Regions from separate parts of the Homo sapiens genome. Here all the other regions are linked to region 3. The links are contacts of gene promoters, found by promoter capture Hi-C in blood cells and fetal thymus (Javierre and others, 2016). All regions are on one chromosome and are shown on one strand. The core of a region is centred on a gene start or on the middle of the fragment in contact, and the rest is flanking DNA. Distances in the headings are between cores, read along the strand shown.

Region 1 (3,588 bases), core at 819-3,318, 660 kb after region 3:
TAGAAAAAAAACAAGACAGAAGAAAAGTCAAGAGACCAACAATAGAGAATCAGTTCTCCAAAGATGTGAATCATTGCTTTTGAATGGCAGAGCCCCCTGGGGAGATGGGTAGAGCAGAACAATAAATGAAAGTAGTCGAGAGCATAGACTCTGCAGCCAAGCTGCCTAGGAACAAATTGCAGCTTGCCATTCCCCAGCTATATGACCATGGGCAAGTTCCTGTACCTCTCTGTGCTTCTTTTCCTCAATTGCAACAGGGAGCTAATAATACTACCTGCTTCATGAGGTTGCTGTGAGAATTAAATATGTCAGTACAGGCTTAGCCCTTTGAGCAGTGTATAGTACATATTAGCCATTTCTCTTTTCATCAATTCCCTTGTTGCCTTTGCCAGATGCAAATGTCATGCCCAATATGGACTGCAGGCAGCCAACCAAATAAACAGAAGGAGGAGGACCTTTCCTTCCCTTGGGTCCTGAGCTCATGTATGCATTGGAATTTTCAGTAGGAGGAGACCTTCTTGTGATGTCTGGACACCCATCAATATGTAGATTCCACCCCACAACAATTGTCCATATTCAGACACGTTTTAAAAATCGGTTCCACATTTCAAGCATGTGAAGCTAGGTTTTAGCTTTAGTCTCTACTACATATTTGGAATTAAAGCCTCTAGAGTCCATTATGCAAATCCATGCAAATAATATGCAAAGAGGCAGTAGCCTCAGATTGTGGGGAGGGGGAGTGTGTAGTCCAGCACAAAGGGCCTTGAATGAAAATTTGCATGTGTTAGGGAAGCCCTGGGTTGAAGGCCTCAGATGTTTATTGTGACAGTGTGCATAGCATTCAGTTGTTAACCTTTTGTGCCAAAGAAGAGAGGTAAATGCTTGTCTGATTTCCATATTGAAGGTGACAGTAGAGGTTGGAGGTGGTATTTGGCTAGCACAACATTGTAGGGATTTTTATTATACAAATGAAAAGTTGCTTTGAAATAATGGCTGTGGTCCAGGCTGTGTCCCCAACCAGCAATGTGTTCTTGGACAAGTCACTTCCCTCCTTCTGTTGCCCACTCTGTGAAATGAGGGGATTGGATTAGGTGAAATGCCAGATCCCCTCTCACTGTAACATGTAAACATCATCCTCCAGGTAAAAATCCCTTGGCACCCACGGTGGCAGTATCCGTTCATTGTGCCAAAGATGATGTACTCTAAAGTCCAAAGAAGAAAGGGCTAAGAGGTAACTCTACAGTTCTAGAGAGAACAATAACTTCAGGGGATGCTGATAGCTGAGTGGGGGAAATAGGCAGCAGCAACAAAGACAAACATATTTACTTAGGCTGTGTATCTTACAGCACCAAGGATTCCAGTCAAAGGCTTCCCAGCTAGGAGGATGTTAGTTCCTGGAATGCCAGTGATGGGAAAGTCAGGGGAATTTTTTTCCCTGAGTGTTTTAAAGATCAGTCTGTATTAACCCCTCTCTCTGCCTCTGGAGTGCCGCAAAAGTTCTCCTAGAGGCCATGGTGGCTCCTCTCCCACCTGAGGGCCTGTCCCTGGGGTCAGCCAATGTTGCTTCCAAAAGACTGCTGTGTCCTTGGTCTCCGGTCTTTTATTGTATCTGACACATCTGGTGCCTGGCCCCAGAGATTCCCCGGGCCCTTAATTTTAACTCCAGCTGTTGCAGCAAACACCAGCTGGGTGCAGGCAGAACCTGACAGCCCTATGGCCCAGAACTTCTCTGATCCAGCTAATGGAGACCTGGCGTCAGTCAGGAAGTGCAGTGATGAGCATCCCAGGAGCAGCCCTTGATCAGTGAATATGGGAGCCTCTGGGTGAGTGTTCTTTTCAGGCAGACAATTTGAGGTGCAGCCTACTCAGCTCCACTGACGTCCCCTGTGAGTTTGAGGTGCCCACCTGGACCAGCTCATAACCTGCCCTCAGATTGGTTTTCCCTGTTTCACTAATCTCAGACCCCCACGGCTGACCCCACAGATCATTTTCCAGTATAAACTTCCTGCACAAAAGCCCTGTCTCTGTCTCTCCTTTTTCAGAGGATCTCTTAACATAAGGCATGTGTATTAGTTTGCTAGGGCTTCCATAACACAATACCACAGACAGAAATGTACTTCCTCACATTTGAGGAGGATGGAAGTCTAAATTCAAGGCGCCAATAGGGTTGGAGTCCCCCGAGTCCTCTCTCCTTGGCTTGCAGATGGCGTCCTCTAGCTGCCGTGTCCTCACATGATCATCCCTCTGTGCACACGTGCTCCAGATGTCTGTGTGTCCTAATCTCCTCTTCTTAAGAAGGACACCAGTCAGATCGAATTAGGGCCCACTCTTTTGGCCTCATTTTACTTTAATTACCTCTTTGAAAGCCCTATCTCCAAATATAGTCACATTCTAAGGTACTGGGAATTAGGGATTCAACATAGGGATTTTGGGGGTGCATAAGTCAGTCCTTAACAACACTTAACACTTGTGAGCTAAACAGACACTTGAAAGGGAATGTCCATCAAAACATGGAGGTCACCACCACTAGCCCTAGGAATAGATTGTCTCTCTGGTGTTAAGCTGTGGGCAGGATAGGGGCACCAGAATAACCCTGAGCAGGTCAGAGCATAACAGCACATTAATTCTTCTGGGATGCAACATACTGTCCTCTTCTTCCTCCTTCTGCATCATTGATAGTGGTTGACCAGGATAAGCATGCACTTTAAAGACAACCCTTGTTTCACATACTTCTGCTACTGTGTGACTTTCCACATGTTGCCTAATCTCCCCAAACCTCAATTTCATGCTCCACCAAGTGGTCATATGGATTAAAGCATGAAAGCCTGGGCCAGGGCAAGTGTTCAGTAAACAGGTTTTAGGATTGACTCGAATACACAGAATGTGCTGTCGGTGTGTGGTCTAGATCAGGGGTCCCCAACCACTGGGTCACAGACCAGTACCAGTCTGTGGCCTGTTAGGAACCAGGCTGCACCACAAGAGGTGGGAGGCCGGTGAGCCAGCATCACCACCGGAGCATCACCGCCAGAGCGTTACTGCCAGAGCTCTGCCTCCTGTCAGGTCAGCGGCACCATTAGATTCTCATAGGAGCACAAACCCTATTGTGAACTGCACATGCAAGGGATGGATCTGGTTGCGTGCTCCTGATGAGAATTGAATGCCTGCTGATCTGAGGTGGAAGAGTTTCATCCCAAAACCATACCCCCCCCGACCAACTCCAGTCCATGGAAAAACTGTCTTCCACAAAACCAAGTGGAAGACAATTTGTCCCTGGTGCCAAAAAGGTTGGGGACCGCTAGTCTAGATCATGAATGAAAGTTTAGAAAAAAATAGATTGTTTAGGGCAAATTTTTGGTCCTAGAGTTGGTGGGTGCTACAGCCTCAGTGCAATCTAAAGTCCCCCGCAGCCTCCCACTCCCCACCAATTTAGAAGTGCAGGGTGAGGACACAGGCCCATGCCCAGGCTCCACCACACACCAAACGGTGATCCTGGGCCTTGTGTCAAAGGCATGCCTGGAGATCTCCTCCCCATCTCTGCTTCTCGCCAGGGCCCTGCCTTCTCCATCAGACACCTGGGAATCACAGCTG
Region 2 (3,777 bases), core at 1,012-3,511, 740 kb after region 3:
TGAACAGCACGATGAGATTAGCATGATCTCATGAAATCTGAAAAGTGCTTAAGAGCCAAGGCAGGTAGCTGCATTCTGCAGTAGAACAATGCTCATATAAAGCAATTGATCACCAGTTGCAAAAACCAGAGTGCTCGAGTGACTTGCTCAAACCTGCACAGCAACTGCTTAGTGAAAGGCAGAAGACACATGAGGCAGACAGCTCATCTGGATACATGATCTGCTGAGAATGCACTTGCAATTTCAAAGACCAGGAAGTATCAACATTCTCTCTCCTCACTCTCCCTCCTCCTGAACACTCGCCTTCCCCTCACATTGCAAAGGTAGCGTTTCTGTCAGTTCTGGGTCATTGCCAAGGGTGTTTTTAGGAATGGCCATCCTAATCAGCAAAGTGGGTCAGGCTTGGACTTGGAGATGGTTCTTTTCCTCTTTCCCAGTCCTCATTTGTATCTTCAAGAGTCAGGCTCTCAAATACTTAATTATTACTTACTTAGAACACATTGCTTTTCTCTTCTCACATCCTTCATGTGCAAAAACATGCTAATTTAATTTGAAATTTTTGAAATTTGAAAATCTTTATTATGTTTCAAAATGTCGACATGCTCTCCTGCCCCAGAAGTAATTGCACTCCTACCCTGCTGGAGTGCAAACACGGGCGGCTCAGGTCCTGTGCAGTTTCAAAGCCTAGGGATCAACATATCTGAATTTCATCACACACCCTAACAACTGCACCGGGCAACAAAACACAGCCCCACCTTCCTATCCTCAGGGGCTAGATGACACACCTACTCTCTGGTCTATGAGAAGAAATCTGGAGGCACAGGGTTGAAATGGAAACAGAAATAGAGTTATAATAACCAGAAAGCACAAATCTAAAAAGCCATTGGATAAAAATGTGTAATACTTTTAGGTGAATTACTTTTAGCAGTGGTTACTTTAGGTGAGTTAAAGCAATTAAGTGGGAAGTATCTCTTGTGGTGAGATGATTTGAGAAGGAACACAGTGACATTAAAACTTGTAGTGATCAAATTACATTCTTTTGCTCTTTCAATCTTAAACTAGAAGAAAGCCTCTGTTCAGTGCTGGGAGGTCTTTAACACCTCTGTTGTACTTATTTATCTCCCCTTTCCACAAAGAGAAAGCAGGCCTCAGGACTTAGCAGCTTGGCAGTCAATGGTAGCTGGAATTTAATAACAGTGGTTGGTTATAACTTTATTAATTTTTTAGTTATCCTCTACCCACTGCAAGGGATACTGTTTCATTGGTTTCTGCAGCGATCTAGAATTTTGCTTCCATGGACCAGGCAGGCATGGACCTGGGAGTGCAGATTTCTGAGCTGTACTCAGGATCCCCTGCATCAGAGCCCACATTTTCTCAAGATCCTAAGGTGACGCTCATGCGCATTTAACCTATAGTTTCCATTTTAAACTAACCTACAGTTTACAGATAACTAACCTACAGTTTCCATTTTAAACACGTTTATTTGTAAAAAAAGAGTGAATTGGTTTAAATAAAAATAGCATGAATGAGTATTAAGAGAGTGTGAAAAACCATGTCAGTGGTGCAAGAACATTTGAGAAACACCTAAATACAGTATTTTTGCTAATGAAACTAAGACATGGTGTTTCAGCCAAGAAACCAGTAAATATCACGGAAGCTGCTCACTGGATTGAGAGGGGACAAATCATGTGAGGGACTGTGGCTATAGCCTTGGCCAGCAGCTTTACACTAGACCTGCACACCAAGGCTTTGAAACTTGCCTCCATTCCTTCCCTGGCTTTTCCGTATGGAGTGATGGTAAATGTTTCACAACTGCTTTCTGGGTGAAATATATGTATATGTATATATGTGCCAATCACATTCACAATACTGCTTAAGGGTAATGTAACAATTCCCACTGATTTTTTTATATATAATTTTAGAAATAACACAAATTTTAAGACAAAATACTTTGCTATTTCAATTACACCTATAACTTCAGCATGACTTGCTATTTCTTGGAAAATTCACCAACCATTTTTTATAATTCTATCATCAACAATAGTATCACAAAATCAGACTACAAAAAATGCTTGATTACTAATTTCTGATTAAGCAAAAAGTCACTCACATTATTTGTTACTGGTGGCAAATCTGTAGGGGGTCTGAAGCAACCTCAATTCTTGCCTCCTCAGAAGAAAGAATTCAACTGAAGGGCATAAAGCAGAAGAGACGGAGGCAAGTTTTAGAACAGGAGTGAAAGTTTATTTAAAAACTCTAGAGCAGAGACCGGGTGCGGTGGCTCACGCCTGAAATCCCAGCACTTTGGGAAGCTGAAGCCGGCGGATCAACTGAGGTCAGGATTTCGAGACCAGCCTGGCCAACATGGAGAAACCCCATCTCTACTAAAAATACAAAAATTAGCCGGGCATGGTGGCAGGCGCCTGTAATCTCAGCTACTCGGGAGGCTGAGGCAGGAGAATTGCTTGAACCTGGGAGGCAGAGGTTGCGGTGAGCTGAGATCGCACCATCGCACTCCAGCCTGGGGGACAAGAGCAAGACTTCATCTCAAAACAAAACAAACAAAAAACTCTAGAGCAGAAACAAAAGGAAGGAAATACACTTGGAAGAGGGCCAAGCAGGCAACTTGAAAGACAAGTGCGCAGTTTGACCTTTTGACTTGGGGATTTATACGTTGGCATGCTTCTGGGATCTTTCATCCCTTCTCCCGATTCCTCCCTTGGGGTGGGGTGTCCGCATGTGCGATGGCCTGCTAGCACTTCGGAGGGGAGCATGCGCAGTGTGTTTACTGGAGTTGTACACCTGCTCATTTAAGGCATTCTTCTCTTACCAGCTAAATGCCCCTAGGAGGTCATATACCAGTTTAACTCTGCCATTTTGCCTTTTAGTGTGCATGCTTGAGCTCACTTGCCCAACTCCTGAGATCTTATCAGGAAGTTGCTGATCACCAGTTTCAGGTTTTTTCTATCTTTAGGGAGACTGCTTTTCCCTGCCAGCTGTGACAAGTTATTATTTTAGAGAGACTGTTAACAACCACCTGACCATCACCTGATGGTCACCTGACATTCTTAGTTGGTTGTGGGGGTGCCTCTCCCGCCCTGTTCATGTCTGACTGGCTACCTATTAGCTACCTCTGTTACAGTTACCAGTAACAATGTAATTTAATTTCTAATGATGGCTGTGTTTAGCAGTCAACTTACAACATTCCTGAAAATTTAAAAATCAGCTCCCGTGAGCTGTTAGGAGCAAGTTCTAGCTCACTACTGCTCCCCGCCACCCTCTGTAGCTACATTGTCTGACTCCATTTGCCTTCCAGGATGCCCCACCTCCTGCCTCCTACCTACCTACACAGCCCATCTGGCCAGGAACCCAACCCCAAAGAGGGGAGAAAAACTGGGGTATTGATCATAAGAACTTGGAAGACAAGGAGTATACTTCAGAATGATCCACCTGAGTTTGGGGAAGATACCTCCAATTTTAGGGATCTTAAATTGGTAGATTGGTGGAGATGACAACATTAAATACTAGTTGAGAGCACATCTCTGGGTCTGCTGCTGGGCTGGAATCCTCTTTCTGTCTCTCACTGGCCATATAATCTTGAGCAAATAACTCAATCTCCCTGTGCCTCAGTTTCCTATGAGGATAATAATGACATCTCCTTCATAGGGTTGTAAAGATTAAATTAGATACTTGATTAAAACTGTTAACAATGTGCTTGGCACAGAATAAGTGCCTAATACATATTCTTTATTATTAGTAGTATTTAACTATTACTAT
Region 3 (2,894 bases), core at 395-2,894:
TTCCTTATGCCTTTTCCATCTTTGTGATAGTAAAAATTACATTTTGTAAGGCTTAACTTGAAGGATAAGTAGTTCTAAGAGACTGTGTGCCTGTTGGCACTATGTCTTATTCATCTCACCATCCCTTGAGCACTTCACAGTGCCTGGTACACTGCAAGTCTCCAGTAAATGTCTGACACAATGAATGAAATAAATATGGATAAGTTTTTTCATGCCTCGATATGTGAGAAAGGAACCAGTATGTTTCACAGGGAATCAGGATTGGTGACATGAGTGACTGTGACACTTGCCAACCCTTATTGCACTCCGCCCTGTTTGGTTTGGCCTTTTCTACCCCCACCTCACAGTTGTTTCCAACGTGCGGTGTCTGTTGGGCAGTGGCTTGGATACATTGAATCAGATATTTGAAATGCACTAGTCCATTTTATACATGCAAGTGCATTAAGGTTGCCCAGTAGGAAAACTGATAAGACAACAGATAAACTGCTACACGGACTTCTTCCCAGACAACGACAATAATTACACAACAGCTAATGAGGGAGTTTAAAAACAAAAACAACAACAACAACAACAACAAAACCTGACTAGAAGAATGTCTAGTCTTGAAGACAGGAGGCTTTTTTTCTTTTAGAAAAATCAGTCTGAGGTATTTATTTCACCCCGACTGTAACGACTCCGGGAACTCTTAGGCTGCCTATAAGTCTCTCCCACAGTAAAGAGTACACAAACGACACAACAACGACCAGAGGGGCCCCAAACTGAGGGCAAAAAGTTTTAGAGATTCGTTCACAGAAAAGCAACCTCTTGCTTTATACTATTTTTTTTTTTTTGATACGGAGTCTCGCTCTGTCACCCAAGCTGGAGTGCAATGGTGCAATCTCGGCTCACTGCAACCTCCGCCTCCCGGGTTCAAGCAATTCTCTTGCCTCAGCCTCCTGAGTAGCTGGGATTACAGGCGCGTGCCACCATGCCCGGCTAATTTTTGTATTTTTAGTAGAGACGGGGTTTCACCATGTTGGCCAGGCTGATCTCGAACTCCTGACCTCAGGTGATCCGTCCGCCTAGGCCTCGAAAAGTGTTGGGATTACAGGCGTGAGCCACCACGCCCGGCTGCTTTACATACTATTTTATTGAATTATAATGGACCTGCTACATGGAGGGCATGCAATAATTGCTTTTAGCGTAAATTAATCAAATGGACTAGGGAAATTTGACTACATCTAGAGAAGGTTTTCAACCATGGTGAGATCAGGAGGCTTCCAGAAATTTTCATGTCAAGACCATTAAAATGCAAGAGCGATGAAACTTTACAAAGAAACCGACACTTGAGCCCCACTTTGGAGACCCACTTAAAATTTTTATGGTGGGGAGGGGGGTGAAACTCCTAGGAAGAGTTTGCTGAGTTGCTTCAACAGATGTCACCAGCCTTCTGAGGGGGTGGGCGCGGGGGCGGCAGTGGAGCTGGAGATTGGCATTTGCCTCCTCAGGACACTTTCCGGCTAATTTCTTCTAGGTGCCTCAATGAATAAACCAGAAATAGAAAAGCGGGGACCAGGCGCGGTGGCTCACTCCTGTAATCCCAGAACTTTAGGAGGCCGAGGCGGGAGGATCATTGAGCCCAGGAGTTCCAGGTTGCAGTGAGCCGCGATCGTGCCACCGCAGCGAGACCCTGTCTCCAAAAAAAGAGACAGAAAAAGGGGAGGGTTAAGGAATCATTTCAGACTCGAAGAGAATATGGCCTCTCAAATTAAAATGGGCAGTTTCCGCCGAACTTTCAAAGCCGCTTGGTTTGGAGAGGGAGCAGGACGGCCGTGCTTCCCAAGGGTCTCCCGGCGTCGCGGCCCAGCCCGGCGTTACCTGCAGTTCGGCCCGCAGCCGCTTGTTCTCCGTGTCCAGCTTGGCCTCGCGGCGGCCCATGGACAACAACTCCTGGTTCTTGCTGACGCGAAAGATCTCGTACTCCTTCCTGAGCCGCTCGTACTCGGCCGCCGCGTACTCCAGCTCTGGCACCGACGAGCCAGTGGACTTGAAGCTGGCCCCCAGCAGCCCGCCCGCGCCCACCCCGCGGGGCAGCGACCCGGGCCCGGCCCCTGCTGCCGCCCCCGCGCCTCGGCGGAACGAGTTGCGCAGCAGGCGGGCCTTGGGCTTCACCTCCACCGGGATCTCGCAGGCCTCGCCGCCGCCCGCCCCGTACGTGTCCTCGATCACTTCCCCGCCCGCGGGGCTCACGAGCGACGAGGCGGTCCCCATGGCGTCCGTTGCCGCTACTACCTAGTGAGTACCAGCAGGACTGGGCAGCGGAACGGAACGGGACGGGGTGGGGCAGAGGAACGGAACGGGACGGGGCGGGGCAGAGGAACGGAACGGGACGGGGCGGGCCAGCGGGATGGAGCGGGGCCGGAGAGCAGGACTGGGCGGAGCAGCGGGACGGGGCGGAGCAGCGGAACGGGGCGAGGCGGGGGAGCGGGATGGGGCGGGGAAACAGGAGGGGCGGGGCAGCAGAACTGGGCGGGGCGGGGGTGCAGGACGGGGCGGGGGAGCAGGACGGGGCGGGGCAGCGGAACGGGGCGGGGCGGGGCCGGAGAGCCGGACGAGGCGAGGCAGCGGAACGGGGCGGGGAGGGAGAGCGGAAGGGGGTGGGGCAACTGGAGGGGCGGGGCAGCGGAACGGGACGGGGCAGCGGAACTGGGGGGATGGGCGAGGGGGACGGGGCGGGGCAGCAGGGCTAGGCGGGACAACAAGAGGGGCCGGGCAAGTGGGGCGGGGCATGTGGGCGGGGCAGGGCAAACGGGGGTGGGTCGAGAAAGCACACAGGGCCAGGCGGGCTAGCAAGAAGGGCGGGGCTAGCAGGAAGGATGGGGGGAGTGGCGACTGTGCAGGACCAGCAGTGGACC
Region 4 (3,575 bases), core at 292-2,791, 670 kb after region 3:
AATGTTTATCATGTGAATGAACTATAAATGTTGTTCACCACAATTTACCCATCACCCAGTCAGAGCCTAACACACAGTAAATGCCCAAGAAAAATTTTTAAGCAGAGGACAAACGAGGGGCCAGCTTCACTGCAGCATTGACCTTTAGTGTGGCCTGTACACATTTTGCATGGAAAAGGTGTTCCTGAGATCTGTTGTAGTAAGTGGAAAAAAATATGTAACTTGACAAAGGGGCTGGTCCTACTTTAGGTATGGGCTGTGAACCCCTGAACTTTAAATTTCTCATATTCTCTTTGCAAATTGGTAAATGAAAACCAAAGCCAAAGGACAATACTCGTGAACGCACTATAGAAAAGGCCCTTGCTTTTAGAACATCCCAGTTAGTCATTTGGCACAGAGCACGAGGGCTGCCGTCCAACACAATCCAGAGGCTCTGGTAGAAAGGGCTGCCCCAGCCAGTCGTGATCTTCAGACCAGGAGGGCGCCATAGGACCTGCAGCACAAAGCTCAGCTTGGCTTCAGAGTGGATTGGATTTTGCTGTTTCCCTCCCAGCAAGCCGTTCCTCTTGTTCTGCTTTATTTAGAGTAATATTACAATTTGTTCCAATTCTCTGGGCTCACACTATATGAGGGTAAATGCAGGCAGCCTAGGGCCAGGATGAAGCCAGCCAAGCACACACACACTGCTGACCATCTCTAGAGCAATCATAAGGTCCCAGTTCATATTCCACCATGTTCCACATCCTCAGGACATGTACTCACCACCTGCCCTTTAGCTGCTAACTTTGGAGACTGCCAAATGGTTTGCCTAAGCAAGTTCCTCAGTTGCCCTGCCCCCACTGCTGTGTTGATGCAAGCAGCAAAACACAGATCCAGGGCTGTACAGACAAAATTGTGATGCCCAACAAGTGCTTGGAAACTTCCATTCTTTTTTCTTTTTCCCACCTCCTCCTCCTCCTTCTCCCTGTTTTCTCTTCTTCCTTCTTTTCTCCCTCCTTCTCTCCTCCCTTCTTTTTTCTTCTCCTTTGCTTTGGTTGTTTCCTGAATAACTCTCTCTTTAATGCAGCAAAACATACCCACATGGTTTTGCCTTTGGTGAAGACTTGCTTTGTGAAAGCTATAAAATGACAAGCCAAGCTCAGCCTCCACAGTTAAACCCAAAAGCATGGTGGAGGAAAGGGATTTTTGTCTCCTCTTTGAAGTGCTCCACTATTTTCCTTAGATGGCTGGCCCCATATCCACCCTTAGATAGGTGTTGAACTAATTCCAGACACTGAAGGAAATTCTTGTCTTCTGAAAAGACATTTTATCAACAATGGCATTTCTTCCTTACCTTATGATTCATACAGCAGTAAGTACTCCTCAGAAAGTATCTGTTATGTATGTTTTGTTTAAAAATAAACTTCAGAGAATTAATTGTGGCTAAGCAAATCTGGCATGAGCCAGTATACCTAGGCCTATAGTTGAGTCTTTGTCCTGAAATGGCTTGAAGGTTCCAAGACATTAGCTGTTTTAATTGGAAGAAGCTATGACTTTCTTTTTTTCTCTCTCTTAATTAGTACCAGGGCCCAAATCCAAGTACAGCCATTTAGTAGCCCGTAAATGTTTGCTTGTCCTTGGTAAGTGAAACCAAAACCCTGCCAAAGCCATACAGATTACCTTCTGGGCAGTGGATGGCCTATTTCTAGGCTTTTCTGCTCCTGCAACTGAACATACAGACTGAAATTTTCATCTGTCACTTATTATGCAGTCACACAGAGATGCAGATCCATTCAGCTCAGCATCACTAGTGCTATAAGAAATGGGGCAATAATTCTGACCAGGCTCTGGAAGGACTCAGAGCGGGAAGGAATTGGCCCTTGAAGCCTCTTGACAGGTCTGTTAGATCCTGACAGGTGGGTAGCAGGAAACAGGCGAGTGAGTCTAGGTGTATTCAGGAAGGAAAAGCAGAGAAGTTTCCCAGAAGTCTGTGAGAAAGAGGCAGGAAGTAGTCTGGGTGCAAGTGGACTGAGTTTTGCCACTAGTGCAGTGAGCCATGCACTGTATGTGTGTCATGCATGGCAAGTCCCCTCAGACTTTGACAAGGAAAGCAGTACCATCTCTGGCAACCTGGGATTGGGGTGATTCCAGAAGCAGGGAACATTTTTTGAAAGCTGCTATAAAAATATGAAAGAACAGCACAAAAATTAAAATATACACATACACACACACACACAAATTAATTAAAAGAATGGCATAGAGGGCTGTGCACCTCAGCATTAGCAGTAGGGATGATGAAAATGTGCACCAAGCCATCAGTGCTGAAATAAATGTTCCCATGTGTACATTTCTTTAAGAATGGCCACCTCTTAAGCCTTCTCCAGCTCACTCCATCTCCTCCCTCTCTCTTCCCAGGACCAGCTCTCAGAGCCCCGCTCCCCAGCCAATGGCGACTATAGAGACACTGGGATGGTCCTTGTTAACCCCTTCTGTCAAGAAACACTGTTTGTGGGAAACGATCAAGTATCTGAGATCTAACTACAGCAGGCATCACTTTGCCATTCCGTATTTTTCGTCTCTAAATTATAAATATACAAATACATATATTATAAATATAACCTTTGTGTAACCCTGACTTAATGAGAAACATTTTCAGCTTTTTTTCCTATGAATTGTCAACATCTTTTTTACAAGTGTGGTTTAAAAAAAAAAAAAACTTTACAGAATGATCTGTGGCTTTATAAAATAAAGGTATTTCTAAGCAAAGCAGTTGCATTGATTGCTTCTCTTAATAACTATTCTTGAGCACCTGGGGATCCCAGGAACCCTGGTCAGGTGAGGTAAGAGACTGACCTCCTGTAGAAGCTGAATGTTACAGTGCAAGCGCACGATTCTTTGAGTGATTCTTAAAGCTCTGGTTCCTCTTGATTTGGTGTGACCCCATTTCCTCCCTTCTCATACGCACACCTGTAAAGGGAACTGGACCGCCTCAGGGGAAGACGGCAGACTCATGCACAGAGAAGGAAAAGGGAACATCTCATCACCTCTGAGGATGAGTACCCTGGAGCCTTATGACGGCACCATTGGATGTCATGTTTAATTCCATCCAAGTTGTGGATGGCAGGCAGGAGCATGGAGCCCTCAGGAATCCATGGAGGACATCAAGGCATCCCAAGGCCATATTCCCCTAACATTACTTCCACTGCTAACAACAGGACTGCCTTTCCCTGGTGGGAAAATGCTCCCTTTATGCCCATTCCTGTATCCCCTCCAACACCCACATCTGCATTAAACACCCGTGCCTTTCTCTTGGAGAGGGTTTAGATGCAGATCCCGGCCCTGGAGCTTTAAAATGCTTGCCCTTCCTTCTTCAAGGATCAAATGTTTATTGGGGTTCAGCTTTGTTTTCTCAAAAGGCCATGGTATCGTGCCCCTGAGGAACATGTTTATCTAAGAAGCTTTGAGGTAGTAGAGCGATAATTTTTGAAACCTTCCTCCTGCAATCTTTAAAAAAGAAAAAAAAGATTGCCCAAACAAATCATTTGGGAGAAGACATCATTATACTCCTACTTGGCACTGCAAACCTGCTCGCAGCA
Region 5 (3,500 bases), core at 779-3,278, 570 kb after region 3:
TGTGTTGTCCAGGCTGGTCTCAAACTCCTGGGCTCAAATGATCCTCCCACCTGGGGCTCCCAAAGTGCTGGGATTACAGGCGTGAGCCAGCACACCAGGCCTACCAGTGAGTTTTTTTTAATGGGACAGCAGCAACCTTCATGGAGCTATGGAATTTCTCTGAGCCTCATCCAAGAGAGAGGTGGAATTTTTATTATTATTATTATAAGCCCCTTAGATGTCCTATGTCCCTGAACTTGTCCTTAATGAAGCCATCAAACTCATTATATTACGCTGCCTAAGATGCAGAAGGCAGGGTTCCTCAAGGTACCTGGAGCCGTTTCAACTCCTTTCCCATCTATCTCGGCCTTTCTCAGCTCCAGACTCTTGACAAAGTACAGACATACACGATCTCTCTACTGCCTTCCTCCCTTCCCAAAACATTCAGAGTTAATCCCACTGTAAGTCATGTCTTGTTGAAAATCATTTGGCTGAGCAGGATCTGCAGTGGTTCCCAACCCTGACTGCACATCTGAATACATCCCCTCAGGAGCTTGATAACAAGAGAAATCTAGATTTAGTACATTTGGGATGAGGCCCATGAATTTGTATTCTTAAGAAGTGCCTCAGATGATTCTGTTAGAAAACACTTTGTGGGAACCTTGATGGTTGCGTAGAAGTTTACCAGATTGGTAAAGGGAAGAAGAGAATGTTTTTTTTATACATGGGATATAAAATGCCATGTGTGCAAGTATGGATAAGGAAATATGTGTGGCAAGTTCAAGGTTTTCAAACTGTGCTCCAAAAAACTGCTCAGGTAGGACAGAAGTTGTTTTATAAATATCAAGGTTCTTCATAAGATTTCTTCAAATAAAGGTTTCACTGCTAAGCTCCCCTCCAGTTCCATTGTTTTTACCTCACAAAGTGATGGTTTCCTTGCCCAGTCCTCATTAGGCCCATTGCCAGGGTTTCGGTTGATCTCAGGCTCTCCTTTGATCCTACCATTGTCTGCCTCTTGCTTGCTGTTAGCTTTGGCACTGATTGTCATCATAAGAGAAATAAACAACATGCGTGGAACTTGGAATTCTGCTGCTTATAAAATGTGTCAGGCATGAACAGCCCACCCAAGTGTTCTGCAATTAGGTGGTAGGCACGTGTGGTTTTGTTTCAGAGCCTGCCTGCTATGGGGACCCTGGAGACAGTTTTTATAAAGTTTTTTTTAAAGCATCTGTTTCAAACTCTAAAGCACCAAAGCCCTCTCCTTTTCTCAGAGACACAGATGCCTTAGCCACAACTCCCCTGCTGTAAAATTCTGAACTTAGCAGTTTGATCAAGCAAAGCTTTGTAGAGAGCTCTGGGCTTGAGATAGAGGATGCTTGGCTTCCAGTTCTATTTCATATGCCACTTGCTTACACCAACTTAAGCCAAATAACTGGCCAAATGAGACATTCTCTAGGTCATAGTTTCCCTATCTATAAAGTTGGTATACTAGCATGCTTTTATTTCTGAGACCAGGAATAACAAGTGATGTCTTAGGTGAATGGAGCTTTGAGAGAAAAGAGTAACATTCTATAAACATAATATTCTTAAGAACAATAGGGAACAGAATTGTGCATAATTTAACCTTGTAAGACAAGTTGCTTTTTCTGAGACACAAAGAGGAATTAGTTTACCAGTAAATACCTTTTAGGAAATGTTAATTCTCATTGATAGAGTATTCATTTAAACCATCTGCCATTCATCAAAGGATCCAGCCTCCAACTTTCTTCAACACTGAGTCCACAGATGAATCAATCATGCCTACCTTTGAATTCTCATCAAATTTAGCACTTCTCTCCATGAAAGCCTTTATCACACTCCTCAAGGGTAGAAACCTTCTTCTTTGTATCTGTTCCCAAGCCTAACACAGAGCCTGGCACATAGTAAGCCCTTGACAAGTGTTGGCTTACTATGTGCCAGGTTCTATGTTAGGCTTGGGAATTAAATTGTTGGCTATTAAATGAATGAGGTTTGGACACTGTCCAGTATTGAATTAGATGCACTCAAGACCAAAGATTAATAATAAAATACACATTCCTGGATTCGAGTGGATCTTAAGGATTCATCTCACCAACTTCCTGCCTTATGCCAGTGCCAACTTTCAAGCATAACTAGGACCCTTTATTTTTAGTTCCTTCCTAAGACGGATGTTGAGTGGTTTTGCTGGCTAACTCGTCAAGCATGAGCATTCTTTGTGCAGCTTAAGTCCATTTTCTTTTTCTCCACTTACATGAAATTGAAGTAGAACATGCCTACATCTTGTGTGTGAGGGTTTTTTTTTAACATATTGAAGATTCCTCTTATCTCACAGTGTCTTGTCTAGTTCAGATTGGAAGCAGAGACCATCACCTCAATTAGAGTATAACAGAAGAGTTAAGAGGTTGTCAACTTGAATTTTAAAATTGCATCCAGTGGCAGCTGGCAACATAGAAATCAGCTTCCGTACACCAAGGGGAGATGTTGCAAACTGGAACACTGCCATCCTTTGCCAAAGATAGACCAGGCTACTGTGCAGAAAGTCTCAGATTTGTTATGACTGAATATTAATGTACCACTCTCTGTAAGTGTTTGGTCCTCTTTGCCTTATTTGATGTGATTTGAATGAATTTAATTTACTAGAAGTGCTTTTCTGGGTAATAAGCATTTATATTTTTCATCCTTATAAAAAATGCACGGCATCTTCAGGCAGAAAATAAGTGATAGTGTTAAATATAAGGAAGAAAGCTTTATTGTACAGTAGAAATCTTCCAACCTTAGGGTTATTTTGAGCTGATAGCAACATGGCACTAAAATTCTCAGAACTTCTCAGAAGAATTAGGTAATAAAAAGTGAAGCCACCATTTTTGTGTTATTTACTTTTTAAAAAATGCAATTTAGGGTTGAGAAGCTAAAGAAAACTATGAGAATACAAAAACACACAGCCTTATGTCCCAGAGCCATCACCTCATGATGACTCATCTCAGGATGTTTTCTCTACTTCCTTCAAATATGATTCTTTCCGGATAATTTAATTTAAATACCAATATAATGATTATTTCTGGAGATGGGGGATTTGCCTCCTATGATAATTCTCTTATCTGCAGAAGGATAGAATCAATTTAATTCCCAAGTAGCAATATTGAGATGTATTTTTATTGGTTTGCTTAATTATTTTTTAAACTTCTGTAACTACTGATGGAAACTAATTAAAACTAAATGCACATTAGCTTTTATTAAATGGCTGCTACTGAGATGGTGAAGTTCAGGAAATTGTAGGCCAGCACATTCCCTTTAATAATGTTGGCTGATTCACAATTGGGGTAATTTCAGATTTATGAGATTTAAAGCATCCATATGTCCTATTTCCTGAAGAATTTTTAATAAAGAAATTAATGTATGTGCCATTTCAATCTAATGAGAACAGAACCACTAACTGAATAATGTACATTCTTTGCCTGAAATCAAATTTCACCAACCTGGGAGTGTTACAGTGGAGAAAAGTA
Region 6 (3,822 bases), core at 654-3,153, 720 kb after region 3:
AGACACTGTGCTAGGGATGGAACAACAAACAGGACAGAAAGGCAGTGCCTGACTTCCAGGAGGTTATATTCTAGCAGAAAATACAGATAAAATAATTTAAAAACCATAAAATTGATAATACAAGCTTTGGTAAGTGTTTTAAAGAAAACTAACAAAGCAGAAAGGGGCAGAGTAAAGGGAAGCACTGCTCGCAGTAAGGTGACCAGAATGAGGGAGCTATTCATGCAAAGGGGAAGGGAGGAGTGGGCCAGGCAGGGGAGTCGGCAAGTGCTAGGGCCTTGAGCAGGAGAGGGACTGGTATGGTCCAGAAAGACCAAGACCCACATGGCTGGAGCCTTTGGAGCAATGGAAGAGTAACAAGCATGCAGGGCCTTGAAGGCCACTTCAGAAGACTGGGTTTTACTCTAAGTATAAGAGACACTTCTATAGAGTTTTGTTTTGTTTTGTGTGTTGTTTTTGTTCTGAGATGGGCTTTCACTTTCACTCTGTCTCTCAGGCTGGAGTGCAGTGGTGCAATCATAGCTCACTGCAGCCTCGACCTCCTGGCCTCAAGAGATCCTCCCACATCAGTCTCCCAAGTAGCTGGACTGTGGGTGCACATCATGACACCTGGATAAATTCTGTTTTTTTGTTTTGTTTTGTTTTTTGGAGAGATAGGGTTTTGCTATGTTGCCCAGGCTGGTCTCAAACTTCTAGGCTCAAGCAATCCACCCACCCTGTCCTCCCAAAGTGCTGGGCTTATAGGCGTGAACCACCACACCTAGCCCCTCTGAAGAGTTTTAATTTAGTTTAATCAGAGTGACATGATATGATTTTAAGAGTTTAAAAAGCCCACTCTGGAAGCAGGATGCAGAATGCATTGGAGGAGGGAGGTACAGATCAGGGAGTTGGAAGGATATTACAATGGGATATTATAATGGGATAGGAGAGCATGATGGGGACTTGCACTAGGGTGATGTCAAGAGAGGTAGAGAGAAATAAATGGATTTGAGATACATTGTGGGGGTAGAATTGACTAGACTCAGTGATAAATGAGATGTGGGAGATGACAGAAAGTGAGAGATCAAGATGATCCCTTGGTTTCCGGGTAGACATTGGGGTTGTTTACTGAGATGAAGAGGATCAAGGGGTGGTGGGGAAAGGGAAGATTTGTGGGGAAATTATCTAGATTTTCTTTTTTTTTTTTTTAATGGATTTTCACTCTTGTTGCCCAGGCTGGAGTGCAGTGGTGCGATCTCAGCTCACTGCTACCTCTGCCTCCTGGGTTCAAGCCATGATCCTGCCTCAGCCTCCTAAATAGCTGGAATTACAGGTGCGTGCAACCACGCCCAGCTAATTTTTTGTATTTTTAGTAGAGGCAGGGGTTTCACTATGTTGGCCAGGCTGGTCTGGAACAACTGACCTCAGGTAATCCACCCACCTCAGCCTCCCAAAGTGCTGGGATTCCAGGCGTGAGCCACCGCACCCGGCCAAAATTATCTAGATTTTCATTCGGGGACATGTTAAGTTTGAGATGTCTGAGAAATAGCCAAGTGAAGACCTCAAAGAGAGGGTGAGTATGCAAGTGTGGAGCTGAGCAGAAAGTTCTGAGATAGACATTTAAATGTGAAAGTCATTAGCACATACAATGCCATTTAAATCTGTGTGGATAGATCAGACCATTTAGTGATTAAAAAAAAGAAGCACCAAGACCCAATCTTGAAAAACTTTAACATTTAGAGGTCAGATAAGGAAGAAAAACCTGGTGAAGCAGAGAATAATAAGAAAGAATGGTCAATGAAGTAGGAGGAAGTCCAGAGAGAGTGGTGTCATGGAAGCCGAGACAGAAAAGTACATCTGTGACAAATGCAACCAGCAGGTCAATATGAGCACAGAGAAGCATCTGCCGGGCTTGGTAATACGGTGGCCTTGTTATTAAGAGCAGTATCACTGGGGTGCTAGGGACTGAGAATTATTTCTCATTCCTTTATTGCTAGAAGCAAGTTATGCTGAACATCCATCCTAAACTTGAAAGTCAAATAAATGTGGGAAGGGTTTCCAAGGGAATCTTGCATCTTGCCACTGCACCAGCTGAGTTTAATTTCCCAGGAGCTCAGTCTTACCCACCTCCTCCCCACACCTGCAGCTCTAGCTGCCAGAATGCCAATATCTTTACTCCAAACAAACCATTCATTGTACCCTTGGGCCCAAATGATAACCTTTTTTAAAACGCTGCTTGTATTTGCCTTTCCTTTAACACAATGATGGTCAAATCTCTCATCCACCACCACCAGCTCATTTATTTTAATAACTACATCCGCAGTGAAAACAGGAGTAGTATTATAGAAAGAGATAAAGTCCTCACCATCATGGTACAAATGACTAGGACTTTTCAGATGACTATGGACAGGAAAAACAAAGGAAAAAAATATATATGTATATATATACATATATATATATCAAGCCACTAGATGGAAGTCTTCATTCAACTGCCTGTGCACTTCAGAAAAGTAAAGCAGGATCAGTGCCAGACTGCACAAACCCATCAAATTCATTCGACATTCATTGAACAACTGCTTTGTACAAAGACAAATAACAATGATGATAATGGCTACCGTTCATGCAATATTTACTCTGTGCCAGGCAATCTGCTGAGTCACACATACGCTGAGTCTCACACACCTTGGCTCATTTAATTCTCCCAGGAGGAAGGGAGTATTATTATCTTCATTTTATGGGGGAGGAAACCAAATCTTAGAATTACTTACTCTAAGCAACTGACCCATGCTTGTGAATGGAGGAGCCAGTTTCCAGAATAAGAAAACACTGTCGTTGTCTACAAAGTATTTATACTAAATGTGGTAAGAGAGGGATAATGTGCCACAGGGGTGGGCTGTGACTCAGATGCAGGAACCAGCCAATGAGGGAGGAAGAGAATCAGCAAAGGCCCCACCATGCTCTCTACAGCTCAGGATGAAACGGAGCGGTCACCCCTAATTGTTTTCCCTCACTCTCCCCATAACTACTGCACCACAAAGAACCGACTGTTCTATCCCCCAAATGCATCTTAAACTAGTCCACATTTTTCCACCTACCCTATGATCACATCGTTCGTCCAGGCCACCATCATTAATAAAATGGGCTCCCTGGACCACCGCAAGAGCCTCCCGACTGGTTCTTTGGCATCTTCTCCTGCCTCCTCCAATCCTCTCTTCCCACAGTAGTCAGAGGGTCCACTTAGTGCACAGATCACCTCTGTAACCTGCTCAAGCCCTTTCAAAGGCTTCCCAGTAAATCTCAACTCCTTTCCATTGTGCCCAAGGCCTTCCCTCTATGGTCTGGTCTTGTCTACCTTTTTAACCTCATCTCCTACAGTAGCGGCTGGTTTCTCAACAAACAGGACAGAGCCTGGCATAAACAGTAATTATGTGCTGAAGAAATTAAGGCAAGAATGAATGAGTGAATAAATAGAAAAGTTTCATGGGGAAGCCGTGTTTGAAATGAGCATTATACTGGAGCAGGCTTTCTCAGACTGAGGGCTGGGAGTGGGGAGGTAGTGAAACAAGTTGCTCTCAATGGAGGCAGCAGGTGCAAAGGCACAGAGGGATTCCAGGTGCAGCAGGGAGGCAGCTAGAGCAGGCCTGGGGGCAGGGCCATGTGAAACCGGGGTTCTCAAGGTTGAGTATGCATCATAAGCCCCTGGAAAGCTTGCTGAGACACAAATTGTTGGGACCCACCTGCAGAGATTCTGATAGGTCCATCTGAAACAGGAGCTGAAAAGTGCATTTCTCACAAGTTCCCAGGTGATGCTGCTGCCACTGGTCCAGGGCCCACACTTTGAGA
Region 7 (3,510 bases), core at 22-2,521, 760 kb after region 3:
CAGAGTCGACAGAGTTTTTGCTATCATGCCCAAGAGGAAATATTCCATTTTCTCCTGCTCTGAGAGTGGAAGGTAATTTGCACCACAGGGAGTCCAGTTTTCAGTGTAATTCTGGGATTGGACCAAAAAACATGTTGCATCTTAAAGAAAGGGCTTTGCAAAATGGATGAGCAAAAACTACTAAATTTCTTTGGACAAGTCATGCATACCTTGTTTTTGTTTTGTTTTTATCTACAGCTAAAGTTCTTACTGACATCCTAGACAGGAAAAGTGTATAAATGGGGTTCACAACTTTAAACTAAAAAGACAAAGGCAAACCTGACAAGATGATTAAGACAAGTTGTCACTAACTCCCTGGATGATAATTAATGGTGTTGTGGTTGCTTTGAGAAGAAAACAAAAGGAGAGGGGACAGGAAATCAATAGACTAGTGGTAGGTTCAGCCCCTCATTGTTTAGTACCAGCAACCAAAAGAAAAGAAGCAAGAGAAACACGTAGGGTAATAAATTGTCCTGAGGAAGTGAAATAGTGGGTTTACACATTATTTTGGGAATTCAGTCTTAGCAGTTCACCAGAGCAACAATCATGCTGAGTAGTGGAAAGCTCCCTCCAAAACTAAATCCTTTTCCTCAATAAATATTTATGCAGTCCCTGTTATATGTCAATGCCATGTTAGAGGCCAAGAATATGAAGATGTACGAAATGTGAACCTGCCCTTAAATAATCTAGATTAGCACTGTCCAATAGAAACAGAATGCAAACTACATATGTAATTTTAATTTTTCTAATAGCCATATCTCAAAAAGGGAAAAATAAACAGGTGAAATTAATTTTAATATATTTTAATCATCTTGTTATGTCCAAAATTCTATTATTTCATAATGTAATCAATATTTTTAAATTATTGAGAGTTTTATATTTTTGGTACTAAGTTTGAAATCTGGCTTATGTTTTACCCTAATAGCCCATCTCAATTCACATACTAAATCTTCATCAGAAATACTTGAGCTATATTTAAATTTCATAAAATTTATAGTTGAAAAAGTAAATTGACGTACCCAAGCTGTTCCAAACATACTTAAAAGTTTTCCAATAACTGAATTTAAGATCACAAGATTTGTTTTCCTTTGATCTTCATATCCACATTGACATAAAGTGGTTCATCTTTTTCAGAAGAGTTCGTGTGACTTTGAAGCAAAAGCACATCAGTTTCAAAACCACACCTGTCTAAGTTAAGTAAATTCATTAAGTCTTGCATCTCATTCAGTATTTATTAACATCATGTTCAAGGAGGTATTACATATATTGAGAATCAACTCTAAATGTATCAACATAAAAAATCCCATTTCAAATTTTTCTTATAAGTTTTCAGGACAAATATTTTACACAGCTTAAGATTTTAATTAAATTTTTAATTAATTAAAATTAAATAACACTTAAAATTCAGTTCTTCCGTCACACTAGTCATATTTCAAGAGCTCAATAGCCACATGTGGCCAGTGGCTACCACAATGGACAGCATAGATTAAAGTTGACTAGAGGTGGGTGGGATCTACAATGGATTTGACCAGCTTGTGAAAACAATCGAGGTCATATTTGCACGATAATTTGTGAGAAGTCCTGCTTTCCCACCAATTTTCCTCACCAAATACAACTGAAATTCCTGGCAGGTGAGCGTCCCACCTAGAAACAGAGTGGCTACATTCCAACAGTTTTATAGGCCTCCTAATTGGCCCACGTAATCCTTCTACTGCTGAAATTCCTGGCAGGTGAGCGTCCCACCTAGAAACAGAGTGGCTACATTCCAACAGTTTTATAGGCCTCCTAATTGGCCCACGTAATCCTTCTACTGCACTGCACTGCTTCTCATAACTAGCTCTTTTGGAGGGAGTTTCCTCTACCAGAGACCTTGAGCCTCCCCTGACACAGGCCTTTTGTTTTCTTTCATACCCCTCTCCTTTCCTTAATCTCCTAACCACATAAGCCCTGGGAGAAGTGAGCTGAATCAAAGAGGCCAGCACGGCCTAACAGCCAGCCCCCACCTGCTCAGTCAGACTATTCTGCCAGTCTCTTCTCTCCCTCATGGTGATTTTCTCTCCAAGGTCTCATAGGCTGTCTCTCAATCTAGCTTCAGGACCCACCTCAAATTACATCAGTTCTTCTGACAGCTCTGAACCCTATCTCTGGGCTGAATTCTCATTCCTGTTTCAGCCCCATGCAAATCAAGGCAAGTGACCAGGCATCTGTTTCAACATCCCCAGACACTTTCTGAGCTTTTTTTAAACATCATACACAAATCACTCAATATAATCCATCACATAAACAGAACCAATGACAAAAACCACATGATTATCTCAATAGATGCAGAAAAGGCCTTTGACAAAATTCAACACCCCTTCACGCTAAAAACTCTCAATAAACTAGGTATTGATGGAATGTATCTCAAAAAAATAAGAGCTATTTATGACAAACCCACAACCAATATCATTCTGAATGGGCAAAAACTGGAAGCATTCCCTTTGAAAACCGGCACAAGACAAGGATGCCCTCTCTCACCACTCCTATTCAACATAGTGTTGGAAGTTCTGGCCAGGGCAATCAGACAAGAGGAAGAAATAAAGGGTATTCAATTAGGAAAAGAGGAAGTCAAATTGTCCCTGTTTGCAGATGACATGATTGTATATTTAGAAAACCCCATCGTCTCAGCCCAAAATCTCCTCAAGCTGATAAGCAACTTCAGCAAAGTCTCAGGATACAAAATCAATGTGCAAAAATCACAAGCATTCCTATACACCAATAAAGAGAAACAGAGAGCCAAATCATGAGTGAACTCCCATTCACAATTGCTACAAAGAGAATAAAATACCTAGGAATCCAACTTATAAGGGATGTGAAGGATCTCTTCAAGGAGAACTACAAACCACTGCTCAATGAAATAAAAGAGGACACAAACAAATGGAAGAACATTCCATGCTCATATATAGGAAGAATCAATATCGTGAAAATGGCCATACTGCCCAAGGTAATTTATAGATTCAATGCCATCCCCATCAAGCTACCAATGACTTTCTTCACAGAATTGCAAAAAGCTACTTTAAAGTTCATATGGAACCAAAAAAGAGCCTGCATTGCCAAGACAATCAAAAAGAACAAAGCTAGAGGCATCACGCTACCTGACTTCAAACTGTACTACAAGTCTACAGTAACCAAAACAGCATGGCACTGGTACCAAAACAGATATATAGACCAATGGAACACAACAAAGGCCTCAGAAATAACACCACACATCTACAACCATCTGATGTTTGACAAACCTGACAAAAAGAAGAAATGGGGAAAGGATTCCCTGTTGAATAAATGGTGCTGGGAAAACTGGCTAGCCATATGCAGTAAGCTGAAACTGGATCCCTTCCTTACACCTTATACAAAAATTAATTCAAGATGGATTAAAGACTTAAATGTTAGACCTAAAACCATAAAAACCCTAGAAGAAAACCTACACAATACCAT

Evidence for each region. The method cuts DNA at HindIII sites, captures the fragments that hold promoters and counts their contacts. A CHiCAGO score of 5 or more calls a contact.
Region 1: a contact is called between a fragment that was not itself captured here and the fragment with the promoter of NPHP3-AS1 in region 3, in 4 of 17 cell types (fetal thymus, megakaryocytes, erythroblasts and 1 more). The highest score is 8.3, in fetal thymus.
Region 2: a contact is called between a fragment that was not itself captured here and the fragment with the promoter of NPHP3-AS1 in region 3, in 13 of 17 cell types (total CD4 T cells, fetal thymus, naive CD8 T cells and 10 more). The highest score is 11.5, in total CD4 T cells.
Region 4: a fragment that was not itself captured here is called in contact with the fragment with the promoter of NPHP3-AS1 in region 3 in 5 of 17 cell types (megakaryocytes, endothelial precursors, fetal thymus and 2 more); the score reaches 11.2 in megakaryocytes.
Region 5: a fragment that was not itself captured here is called in contact with the fragment with the promoter of NPHP3-AS1 in region 3 in 1 of 17 cell types (endothelial precursors); the score reaches 7.7 in endothelial precursors.
Region 6: a contact is called between a fragment that was not itself captured here and the fragment with the promoter of NPHP3-AS1 in region 3, in 15 of 17 cell types (total CD4 T cells, naive CD8 T cells, naive CD4 T cells and 12 more). The highest score is 21.3, in total CD4 T cells.
Region 7: a fragment that was not itself captured here is called in contact with the fragment with the promoter of NPHP3-AS1 in region 3 in 9 of 17 cell types (non-activated CD4 T cells, total CD4 T cells, M1 macrophages and 6 more); the score reaches 9.3 in non-activated CD4 T cells.

The regions. Positions count from the first base shown.
Region 1 is chr3:133,374,794-133,378,381 of GRCh38, forward strand. All of the region lies in intron 3 of TMEM108 (transmembrane protein 108), which reads left to right. All of the region lies in intron 1 of LOC101927432 (a long non-coding RNA gene), which reads right to left. Among named protein-coding and RNA genes, the nearest start is that of BFSP2, 23 kb to the right of the region's middle. The HindIII fragment of the contact is 9,798 bases long and covers 1-3,588 here.
Region 2 is chr3:133,460,761-133,464,537 of GRCh38, forward strand. The region is part of intron 4 of BFSP2 (beaded filament structural protein 2); the gene reads left to right. All of the region lies in intron 1 of BFSP2-AS1 (BFSP2 antisense RNA 1), which reads right to left. Among named protein-coding and RNA genes, the nearest start is that of BFSP2-AS1, 28 kb to the right of the region's middle. The HindIII fragment of the contact is 5,737 bases long and covers 1-3,777 here.
Region 3 is chr3:132,720,106-132,722,999 of GRCh38, forward strand. NPHP3-AS1 (NPHP3 antisense RNA 1) reads left to right here and starts at 1,645. Exons shown (of 11, transcript NR_002811.2): 1 at 1,645-2,274. NPHP3 (nephrocystin 3) reads right to left here and starts at 2,304. Exons shown (of 27, transcript NM_153240.5): 1 at 1,858-2,304. The coding sequence starts at 2,250. It overlaps NPHP3-ACAD11 (NPHP3-ACAD11 readthrough (NMD candidate)), which reads right to left and starts at 2,354. Exons shown (of 45, transcript NR_037804.1): 1 at 1,858-2,354. RefSeq lists silencers at 1,961-2,210, 2,311-2,820. The HindIII fragment of the contact is 4,122 bases long and covers 1-2,894 here.
Region 4 is chr3:133,393,470-133,397,044 of GRCh38, forward strand. It overlaps TMEM108 (transmembrane protein 108), which reads left to right. Exons shown (of 6, transcript NM_023943.4): 6 at 2,395-3,575. The coding sequence ends at 2,517. Among named protein-coding and RNA genes, the nearest start is that of BFSP2, 4.8 kb to the right of the region's middle. The HindIII fragment of the contact is 3,788 bases long and covers 1-3,435 here.
Region 5 is chr3:133,291,477-133,294,976 of GRCh38, forward strand. All of the region lies in intron 3 of TMEM108 (transmembrane protein 108), which reads left to right. Among named protein-coding and RNA genes, the nearest start is that of TMEM108-AS1, 36 kb to the left of the region's middle. The HindIII fragment of the contact is 1,423 bases long and covers 1,318-2,740 here.
Region 6 is chr3:133,441,689-133,445,510 of GRCh38, forward strand. All of the region lies in intron 1 of BFSP2 (beaded filament structural protein 2), which reads left to right. The region is part of intron 2 of BFSP2-AS1 (BFSP2 antisense RNA 1); the gene reads right to left. Among named protein-coding and RNA genes, the nearest start is that of BFSP2, 44 kb to the left of the region's middle. RefSeq lists an enhancer at 270-549. The HindIII fragment of the contact is 3,562 bases long and covers 123-3,684 here.
Region 7 is chr3:133,478,420-133,481,929 of GRCh38, forward strand. The region is part of intron 1 of BFSP2-AS1 (BFSP2 antisense RNA 1); the gene reads right to left. Among named protein-coding and RNA genes, the nearest start is that of BFSP2-AS1, 11 kb to the right of the region's middle. The HindIII fragment of the contact is 9,176 bases long and covers 1-3,510 here.